Regions from separate parts of the Homo sapiens genome. Here region 1 is linked to region 2. Evidence: promoter capture Hi-C in 16 types of primary human blood cells and fetal thymus (Javierre and others, 2016). All regions are on one chromosome and are shown on one strand. Each heading gives the region's core, a stretch centred on a gene start or on the middle of the fragment in contact. The rest is flanking DNA. Distances are from core to core; before and after follow the strand shown.

Region 1 (4,711 bases), core at 1,724-4,223, 3.6 Mb before region 2:
TGTACTTTTTTTTTTGAGACGAAGTCTTGCTCCGTCGCCCAGGCTGGAGTGCAGTGGCGCGATCGCAGCTCAAGGCAACCTCCACCTCCTGGGTTCAAGGAATTCTCTGCCTCAGCCTCCCAAGTAGCTGGGATTACAGGCACCCACCACCATGCCTGGCTAATTAATAGAGACAGGGTTTCACCATGTTGGCCAGGCTGGTCTTGAACTCCTGACCTTGTGATCCACCCGCCTTGGCCTCCCGAAGTGCTAGATTACAGGCGTGAGCCACCGCGCCTGGCCAGTATTTTCTTACAAAATATAAATATTATAATTTCTTAGTTATGAAAAAATATCTCAGATGACAGTGATTCAAAGTTGCTTGAGGTTTCATAGTCCATACTGCTTAGATGTGTTTTCGTTTTAGCTGAAGCTCGTAATTTTCCAAAGCCTGAGTTTTCAATCTATGTTTATGCTTCTAGACTAATGGTCCCAAGCTCATTTCATGGCTGGGCCAAATATCATGGCATGATACAGACATGATGGCATTATAGGCTGACAGATGAACCACTAAATCAACTTTGTCAAGTCATACATGGCTAAATGATAGCCTATTTCAGAGAAATATTGTGAGAAATAACCAAAAGAAAATAAAGGTAATTGAGGCAGATTCTTGTGAAATCTTTGGAAGAAAAACATGGTTAGGAAGACAAAACACACCACCACAAAACAAAAACAAAACCAGGCATTTAAATTTACTGTTACTCAATTAAAAATCAGCACTTTTGTAGTAAAAATTTTTTCCTGCATTTGTGAATCTGTATAAATATTTGAATGCAACGATGTGTATATATAATTGATTTTAAATGATTTGTCTTATAAATAAAATGTTATATAATAAAAATTAAATAGACTCTTAAACCAAGAATTAAGGGAATTTAAAAATGCCAGATAACAGTGCTTGTCAGACTATCTCTGTTATAAAAGACCAGCTTTCAAAAATTTTCAATCCATTGTGGGTCAATACTTATGTAAAATACAAATAAAAAACTCCCCAAATACCACCCAAAACCAAACATTCAAACAAATTTGAAACTTAAAAATAAAAGCTCAAATTTTTGCTTGATTTAGCAGATAAAATTGTTTTAAAAAATAACATGAGGAACTAGAAAAGAATTGTGAAAACTACACATATTGATTATTGAAAATGTGCTTATAAAGCAACTAACATGAATAAAATAATACTCTCTTGTGGGCTGGTAATAAACACTGGGATGTAGAGTGTGTTCTGAGTAACCTGCTTTTTTTTATTTTGGAATAGGCAGCTAAGTAACTTCTTTATGTTTCTTTTCTTTTCTTTTTTCTTTTTGAGACTCCTTTTTTTTTTTTTTTTTTTTTTTGAGACAGAGCTTACTTTGTTGCCCAGGCTGGAGTGTAGTGGTGCGATCTCGGCTCACTGCAACTTCTGCCTCCTGAGTTCAGTGATTCTTCTGCCTCAGCCTCCTGCGTAGCTGGGATTACAGGTGTGTGCCACCACACCAGCTAAATTTTTTGTATTTTTAGTAGAGATGAGGTTTCACCATGTTGGTCAGGCTGGTCTCGAACTCCTGACCTCAGGTGATCCACCCGCCTCAGCCTCCCAAAGTGCTGGGATTACAGGTGTAAGCCACTGCGCTCGCCCCTAAGCAGGTACTATCAGTGGACAGAGAGATTTAAATTCTAACCTTTTTATATTACCCAATTAAATAATTTTATCCGACTTCAATGGGAATAAGAAAAAATAATTTTAATAAATAGCTTTGATACCTTTTTTGTATTGCTCAATTAAATAACTTAAAAATAGGATTTTTGAACATTATCTTTGCATGAATTTGTGTAAGTAACTTATGTGTTGGTGGAAAGAAATGTATACCATCTTTGCCTGTTTTCCTTTAGGGTAATTCCTCTCCTGCAATTACTTTTGGATGGAAGTATGCCCCTTTCTCAGTAGAAGATGGTAATCTTGGAGAATGACCATGGAGAAGGGGATGAGTTCTGGAGAAGGGCTGCCTTCCAGATCATCTCAGGTTTCGGCTGGTAAAATAACAGCCAAAGAGTTGGAAACAAAGCAGTCCTATAAAGAGAAACGAGGAGGCTTTGTGTTGGTGCATGCAGGTAAGCTTTGTGGATGGCTTGGAAGATGCCAATAATGTTGATTTTTCTTTTTCTGCCTTGAAGTACACTGAGAATCACATTTCACACTTGGAGGAGGCAAAACTGCCAGAGAGGAATTGGAAGCAAAGCGATTGTTTGACTTGGATATAGTGAGGACCTCCCTCTTTACTCCCCAGTTAGAAGATCTTAGAATGGCAGCTCTTCCTAGGTTTTCACTTCCCTAACCTATTATTTACTTTAACTCTATGTAATAGATGTATTTAGGTTAGGTAGTATTAAAACCAGACAAAGTAATTTTTGAACTCTGGTTTATGTTTTTTAAAAATAATGTTGCTGTGGGAGGCTGAGGCAGGAGAATTGCTTGAACCCAGGAGGTGGAGGTTGCAGTGAGCCGACATCATGCCACTGCGCTCCAGCCTGGGCAACAAACCGAGACACCATCTCAATAAAATAAAATAAAATATTGCTGAAAAAATTGTATTGATTCCCATGTGAGACTGTGGGTATCTTAGGGCATAATTATTACACAATCTTTGAGCTGGTTCACCTTCTTTTTTTTTTTTTTTTTTGAGATGGAGTTTTACTCTTGTCGCCCAGGTTGGAATGCAATGGTGTGATCTTGGCTCACTGCAGCCTCCACCTCCCAAGTTCAAGCAATTCACCTGCCTCAGCCTCTTGAGTAGCTGGGATTACAGACGTCCACCATCACGTCTGGCTAATTTTTGTATTTTTAGTAGATGGGGTTTCACCATATTGGCCAGGTGGGTCTCAAACTCCTGACCTCGGGTGATCCACCTGCCTTGGCCTCCCAAAGTGCTGGGATTACAGGCGTAAGCCACCACACCCGGCCCACCCTCTTAATATTTTAAGTGAGGAACCTTAAGACCAGAGAGATTAAGTGACTTAAGAGACTTCAGACACTGGTGGTTGGTGCTAGAGCCAGTGTAAGAAACACCTAAGTAGGCCCTTATGTCTCAGTCTAGTGCTTTTGATGCTGTGTCAGCCTGTGATCTTTCTACTTCAGAGGACCATGAGGACAGACACAGTGGAGTTCATCCCCTGGGCCTCCCATCTTTAAAAGGTCTTGGGTTGCAGAACAGTGCTGCTCTGCCCAGGTTTCCTCAGCAGGCTCTTTTTCCTTTGGCCATTTTTATTTTCTTGTATTCAGAGTCTACTTTCCATGACCTCCATGAAGAGAGAAAGAATGTCTGGGTTTCCTTTTAACTTTCCCTGGGTAGTCAAGCAAGATGACAGCAGGATTAACTTTGATATGGAATGAGGAGTAGAAATGTTTCTTCTTGTGAGACTGGTGTCCTGCCTGGCCATTAACGTTTGGCCATATCTAGACTGGACAACCCGAGAAGCCTTATGTGAATCTAATCCAGAGTATCTAAACAAATCCAAAAAACCAGAAACCAGGTTTAATCCCATTTTCTCACAGGTGCTTTTACAAGGAGGTGAGGTAAATTTACAGAAATAATCCAGTTAAAAGTAGACCTGGGACTAGAGCTTCTGCCTTCAGACTCCTAGTCTGTGTTCTTTCCACTACACTATGTTGATGGTACATCTTCCATTATCTTCCATGATACCAGTGAGTTACCGTATTCAGAGTGAGTGTTTGGAAAGTGTAAAAGAAAGGTCTGAAAGTTGTAACAAGCAATAACATAAAGCTTCAATTAGTTGGAAAGCCTTACTTTCTATAACTATTATGACCCTGTCCCTCCTGTCTTAGACACAGACTAGATGATAATGGCTCTGCCAACCTTAAATAATGGAATTCAGAAGCTATGATTAAAGGTAGAGCTTATTCATGCACAAAGCTTGAGGATGTCCACCTGGGAAACACTGACTCCAAACAAATGGGGTCTGTGTTCCAAAGTGGAGAAGTTAAGTTTTCATTTATGTAGGTAGAGATAGAAAAATTTTAGCAGGATGGTAACATTTTCCGTAGGAGACCAGTGCATAAGTTACAGCAATTTGATTGGTTATAGATTGCTACATCCTAAGGAAGATTACTTTTTACTTTGTGAGAAGGGGCAGTGATCTGAGAGGGTCTTATCTCTGGTGTTGTTTGGTCTTCCTAATTATTTACAGGAAAAAGGCAAAAGTTGCAGCTGCATGTTGTGTGACTCAGGGTGCATAGCCACATTCCTTTCAAGGCTCAGAATGATTTAATGGCTCAACTTTTTTTTTTTTTTTTAAGACTAAGTTTCGCTCTTGTTGCCCAGGCTGCAGTGGTGTGATCTTGGCTCACTCTGCAAGCTTCACAATTCTCCTGCCTCAGCCTCCTGAGTAACTGGGATTACAGGCACGTGCCACCATGCCCGGCTAATTTTTGTATGTTTAGTAGAAATGGGGTTTCACCATGTTGGCCAGGCTGCTCTCAAACTCCTGACTCAGGTGATCCACCCGCCTCGGCCTCCCAAAGTGTTGGGATTACAGGCATGAGCCACCGTGCCCAGCTGGTTCAACAGTTTTAACTTTGAATTATTTAATTTCATACTCTCAGGTAAAGGTTGGTGCTGGGGGTCAGCAAGAAGAGTAGGAACTCTGAGTTATGATAGGATATTGTGTGAAT
Region 2 (4,526 bases), core at 1,687-4,186:
ATGGTTTCACACCAGCAAAATAGAGAGATCATGCAGGTTTTAATAGTTTTAAGGTGTTATAAAAACATATAATTTTGAGGTGTTCATTATAAACAAATCTACTGGGCTCTGTAACATATCAGAGATGTGATGAGTGATTCCTATGTCATCTTAAGTGGAAAAGATGTAGTTAAATGGCTGCAAGGAAACTGCAAATCTTCATAAACAATCTCCCTGTTAAATTGTGATGGGCATTCTAGTATGTAATTTTACCTCCTTGTACGGAAAATCTTTTGGATTGAGTAGCAGGCCATGCTAGGTATGACCAGTTGTTTCTTCATTTCTTATGAGAAAAGAACTCCATTATCACATAGGGAATCCTATCCGGGTCGTTTGGATGGGGCTGTCCCTTCTGTCCCCTGCCAGAGGAAAGCGTCTGTGGCCTAGGCTTGGCCCATTTGAGGGAACCATCCCTTTCCAGGTACACTGAAGCTCAAGCATATGTGCATAAAAGACATCAACCAATCAGCAGCCCATCATCCAGAACTATGAGGGAAGACTATTCTGCTGAAGTTGTTAAGCAGTATGGTGTGGGGCTGGGGCGCAGGTAGCTCTCTTGGGTGCCACAGAGAGAGTCCATGCTTGGAGGATGGAGAGAGACTGAGATTGATGGCATTAGTTGCAACATGGATTCCATGGTGCCAGAAGCCATCTACCACTTTGTGGGTAAATACATCTTCTCCCCCGTCACCTTATTTTGGTATAAGCTAGTTAGCTAAGTTTCCAACATTTGCAATGAAAAGATTCCATCTTACTACAAAAGTTGAAACTATGCACCATTTTTCTCCATCGCAAGCCTGCTCCCTCACCTACATTCTCTACGGCAGTGAGCTCTCTCTCCTTTAAATGTGTCTCTCTAGGCACCACAACATCTCCATCGCCTGCTTCCATCCAACACCAATGCCCCCTCCTGCTCAGGCTCCTTTGCTGACTCCCCATTTCAAGAAGCCTATGTTGGGTGCCCAGGGCTAGGTCCTCAAGACTCTTTTCTGTCCTCACACACTCCCCTGGTGTCTCGCCCTATCCCATGACCCTCGACCCTCAGCCCAACTCTCACTCTGTCACCCAGGCTGGAGTGTAGTGGCACAATCTCGGCTCACTGCAACCTCCACCTCCTGGGTTCAAGCGATTCTCCTGCCTCAGCCTCCCGAGTAGCTGGGATTACAGGTGCCCACCACCACACCTGGCTAATTTTTGTATTTTTAGTAAAGACAGGGTTTCACCATGTTGGCCAGGCTGATCTTGAACTCTTGACCTCAGGTGATCCACCCGCCTCAGCCTCCCAAAGTGTTGGGACTACAGGCGTGAGCCACCGGGCCAGGCCTCCTTTGCCTTTTAATCTGTTTATAACATGCGGTGGACTAGGGAACCAACTGAGGCTGCCTCAGAGTCATCCACTTGGACTTTGCTGCACGGCTTGGTGACACTCACCTTAGCTGCTATTTATGGCTTGTTTTATTATTATCGGCCATATTCCGATTAGGTGCGGTGTCATCATACTGCATATGTATATGTGTCATCTATGGAATAGGGCAAGATGCTCCTACATAGGTAATGATTAGACTGAATCAATGCCACTTGATTTGTGAAAATAAGGATTTCCCAATCAGGGACTTCAATGTTGCCTCTGTTAGCACCCATCTCTAACGGAGAATTAATTAGCAGCTACAGTGATGAATTCAGTAGGTCCATGGGTCGGTTTCCTGTGGACTGCCTCCCTCCCAGCTAAAGCCCTGAAGTGCTGGGGAGAGGGCAGCACCCTGTATAGTGTCCTTCACAATCAACTGCTAAGACTGACCAAGAGCTCACCCCACTGCAGGAAATCACACAAGTGTAGCCCTTGGGTCCTGGGTTCCTTGTAAATTGAGCAGCATATAGGATCCTCCACATACAAGCACACCTGTACTTTTCCCCAGCATGACCCTGGGCCACCTTAGTCACATCTAACCATCTACCAAGGTAGTGGAATAGAGCAGAATGTCTTGACTTGAGGTCCATGTTCGGGGTCTGAATACTCGGAAATTACATGAAAATCTGTGGGAATCTGTGTGTGTTCAGGTCATTTAACTCTCAAAGGGGGGCTGTGCGACAAGGAAGGATCATTAGAAAGAGGAATGGAGGAAGACAAGCTTGGTACAGTGGAATGTAGGGTTTGAGGTGGGGAAATCCGTTGTGATCCTCCCTTCCCTGTATCATTATTTACACAAACTAGTTGGATATAAATATGGATATGCTACCTACCTAGTTTTTACCTCAGTTTCTGCATCTGTGAACTGGCAATAGCAATGGTGCCCACTTCATGGGACTGTGTGAAAAGGAAATGAGATATGATCCTTGTAAAACATTTAGCAAAGTCCTTCAATATAGGCTCCTTATGAATACACCAAACTTTTGCGGGTTTCAGCTCACCCACAAGTGTAAGCGATAGTTTACATGTTGGGGGTTCTCTACTGTGCTTTCCACTTTTTAGTCTCCAGAAAAATCTGGAGAAGAGAGGAGTGGAGGGGGTAGAGATGTAACGTCAAAGGAAAAGCCATGTGTCATGCTCACCTCTTAGTCTTCCGGGCGATCAGAAGCCAGGGATCTCTGGGCACCTATGTGCCTGGGCCTGCTGGGGCGACCGGGGAGGCCCCTGCTCTCGTCCTCTGACGCTCAGCGCTGGCCCAGCCGCGACCTTGGGCTCCCGGAGCCCGGCGGAGGCGCCCAGGCGTGAATGATGTCCCTTGGGTAGGGCTGGTGAGCTGGCGCGCGGGACAGCAGGGCTGGGTGTATGTGTCCATGGGCCCCGGGTCCCCGGAAGGCGAGCGCGCGGGCAGGTGAGCGCAGGGGGCGGGGTGGAAGCCGGAGGGACCGGGCTGATTGTGAGCTTCCGCCACGCAGGGCGCGGCTGCCGGGGCAACCGCAGCGTGCGCGGTGGGGCGGTGCTCGCCTCCGCCTCCGCCTCCGCCTCCGCCTCCGCCTCCGCCTCCGCCTCCGCCTCCGCCCCCGCCCCCGCCTCCGCCTCCGCCCCTCGCGCCTGGCTTCGACGCCAGGTGGCCGGCCTGGGCGGGATGGGGTAGCTGCGCTGGGTGTTCCAGGGCGGAGCGCAGAATGCTGCTGTCTTGAGGATTCCGCCCTTCTCTCATTCTCTTCTCCCACCTCCTGCCCTGGGTCAGAACGTAATTTAGTTATAAAATTAAAGCTGCATATGGCAATTAAAAAATGAAGTAAAATATACAATAAATATTTAGTTTACAAAGTACAATTAAATGAAAAATACAATAAATTACACAATAAAGCGAAAGTGAACCTACTCTCAACTGCCACAGATTCTTGCAAATCTTCCCAGAAATTTTCTTTCCATACTCTAGGATGCATATATGCTTAAAAAATATTTATACACAAATGGAAGCAAATATGGAGATCACTTTATTTCAGGGCCTACAAATGCACCATAACACCCCTCTCTCTCCCTCCACACATGCTTTTTGGCGGAAAATTCTGAAAGCTTTGGTTTGATTATGTGAATGTAAAACATATATATGTGTGTCTATATATATATGCTTTTTAATGCAGTATGTAATTGCTTCCAATTAAAAACAGTAATTCCTTACACCAGCCTACCCTATTCTACTCAGAGACTGTTTAAAAATGTTAAGAGCGAAGACATGGAATCAACCTAAGTGCTCATCAATGATAGACTGGCTAAAGATAATGCGGTACATATACACCATGGAATACTATGCAACCATATAAAGGAACAAAATTATGTCTTTTGCAGGAATATGGAGCTGGAGGCAATTATCCTTGGCAAGCTAACGCAGAAACAGAAAACCCAATACTGCATGTTCTCACTTATGAGTGAGAGCTAAGTGATGAGAACACATGGACACATAGAGGGGAACAGCACACACTGGGGCCTATTGGAGGGTAGAAGGTGGAGAGTGGGAGGAGGGAGAGGATCAAGAGAAATAACTAATGGGTACTAATCTTAATACCTGGGTGAGAAAATAATTTGTGCAACAAAACCACATGACACAAGTTTACCTATATAACAAATCTGCACATGTACCCCTGAACTTAAACGTCAAATAAAAAATAATAAAAATGTTATTAAGGACTATTTCATGCACACCAAAATATACTGTATGATATATGGAAAGTACATACCATACCATACCATAGCTAAAGAAATACCATAGCTAAAGAAAAAGAAAGCTAGGAAAAATAAAGGAAAAAGGAAAAGGAAAAAAAAGTCTGCCTCTACTGCTGTACTTATATGTATTTCTTCCCAACACTGCATCCTCCTCTTCCTGTTCCCAGAGATAATACCTGTTCTGAATTTTACATTTATCATCCCAGCCTCTTAAAAATGCATTGCTACATTGAATGCCTCCCTAAATAATGCATGTTTAATATTGCATATTTTGAGAATTTATAAAAATGTGGTAGAATGTTGTGTATTGTTTTGATGACTTTTTTCCTTTCAACGTCTTGTTTTTGAAATG

The links. The method cuts DNA at HindIII sites, captures the fragments that hold promoters and counts their contacts. A CHiCAGO score of 5 or more calls a contact.
Region 1: a fragment that was not itself captured here is called in contact with the fragment with the promoter of ANKEF1 in region 2 in 1 of 17 cell types (naive CD8 T cells); the score reaches 5.4 in naive CD8 T cells.

Annotation. Positions count from the first base shown.
Region 1 is chr20:13,627,356-13,632,066 of GRCh38, reverse strand. It overlaps TASP1 (taspase 1), which reads left to right. Exons shown (of 14, transcript NM_017714.3): 2 at 1,915-2,133. The coding sequence starts at 1,989. Among named protein-coding and RNA genes, the nearest start is that of TASP1, 9.2 kb to the left of the region's middle. The HindIII fragment of the contact is 1,665 bases long and covers 2,141-3,805 here.
Region 2 is chr20:10,033,397-10,037,922 of GRCh38, reverse strand. It overlaps ANKEF1 (ankyrin repeat and EF-hand domain containing 1), which reads right to left and starts at 2,936. Exons shown (of 11, transcript NM_022096.6): 1 at 2,590-2,936; 2 at 2,281-2,344. All of the region lies in intron 3 of SNAP25-AS1 (SNAP25 antisense RNA 1), which reads left to right. RefSeq lists a silencer at 2,596-3,145. The HindIII fragment of the contact is 1,358 bases long and covers 2,171-3,528 here.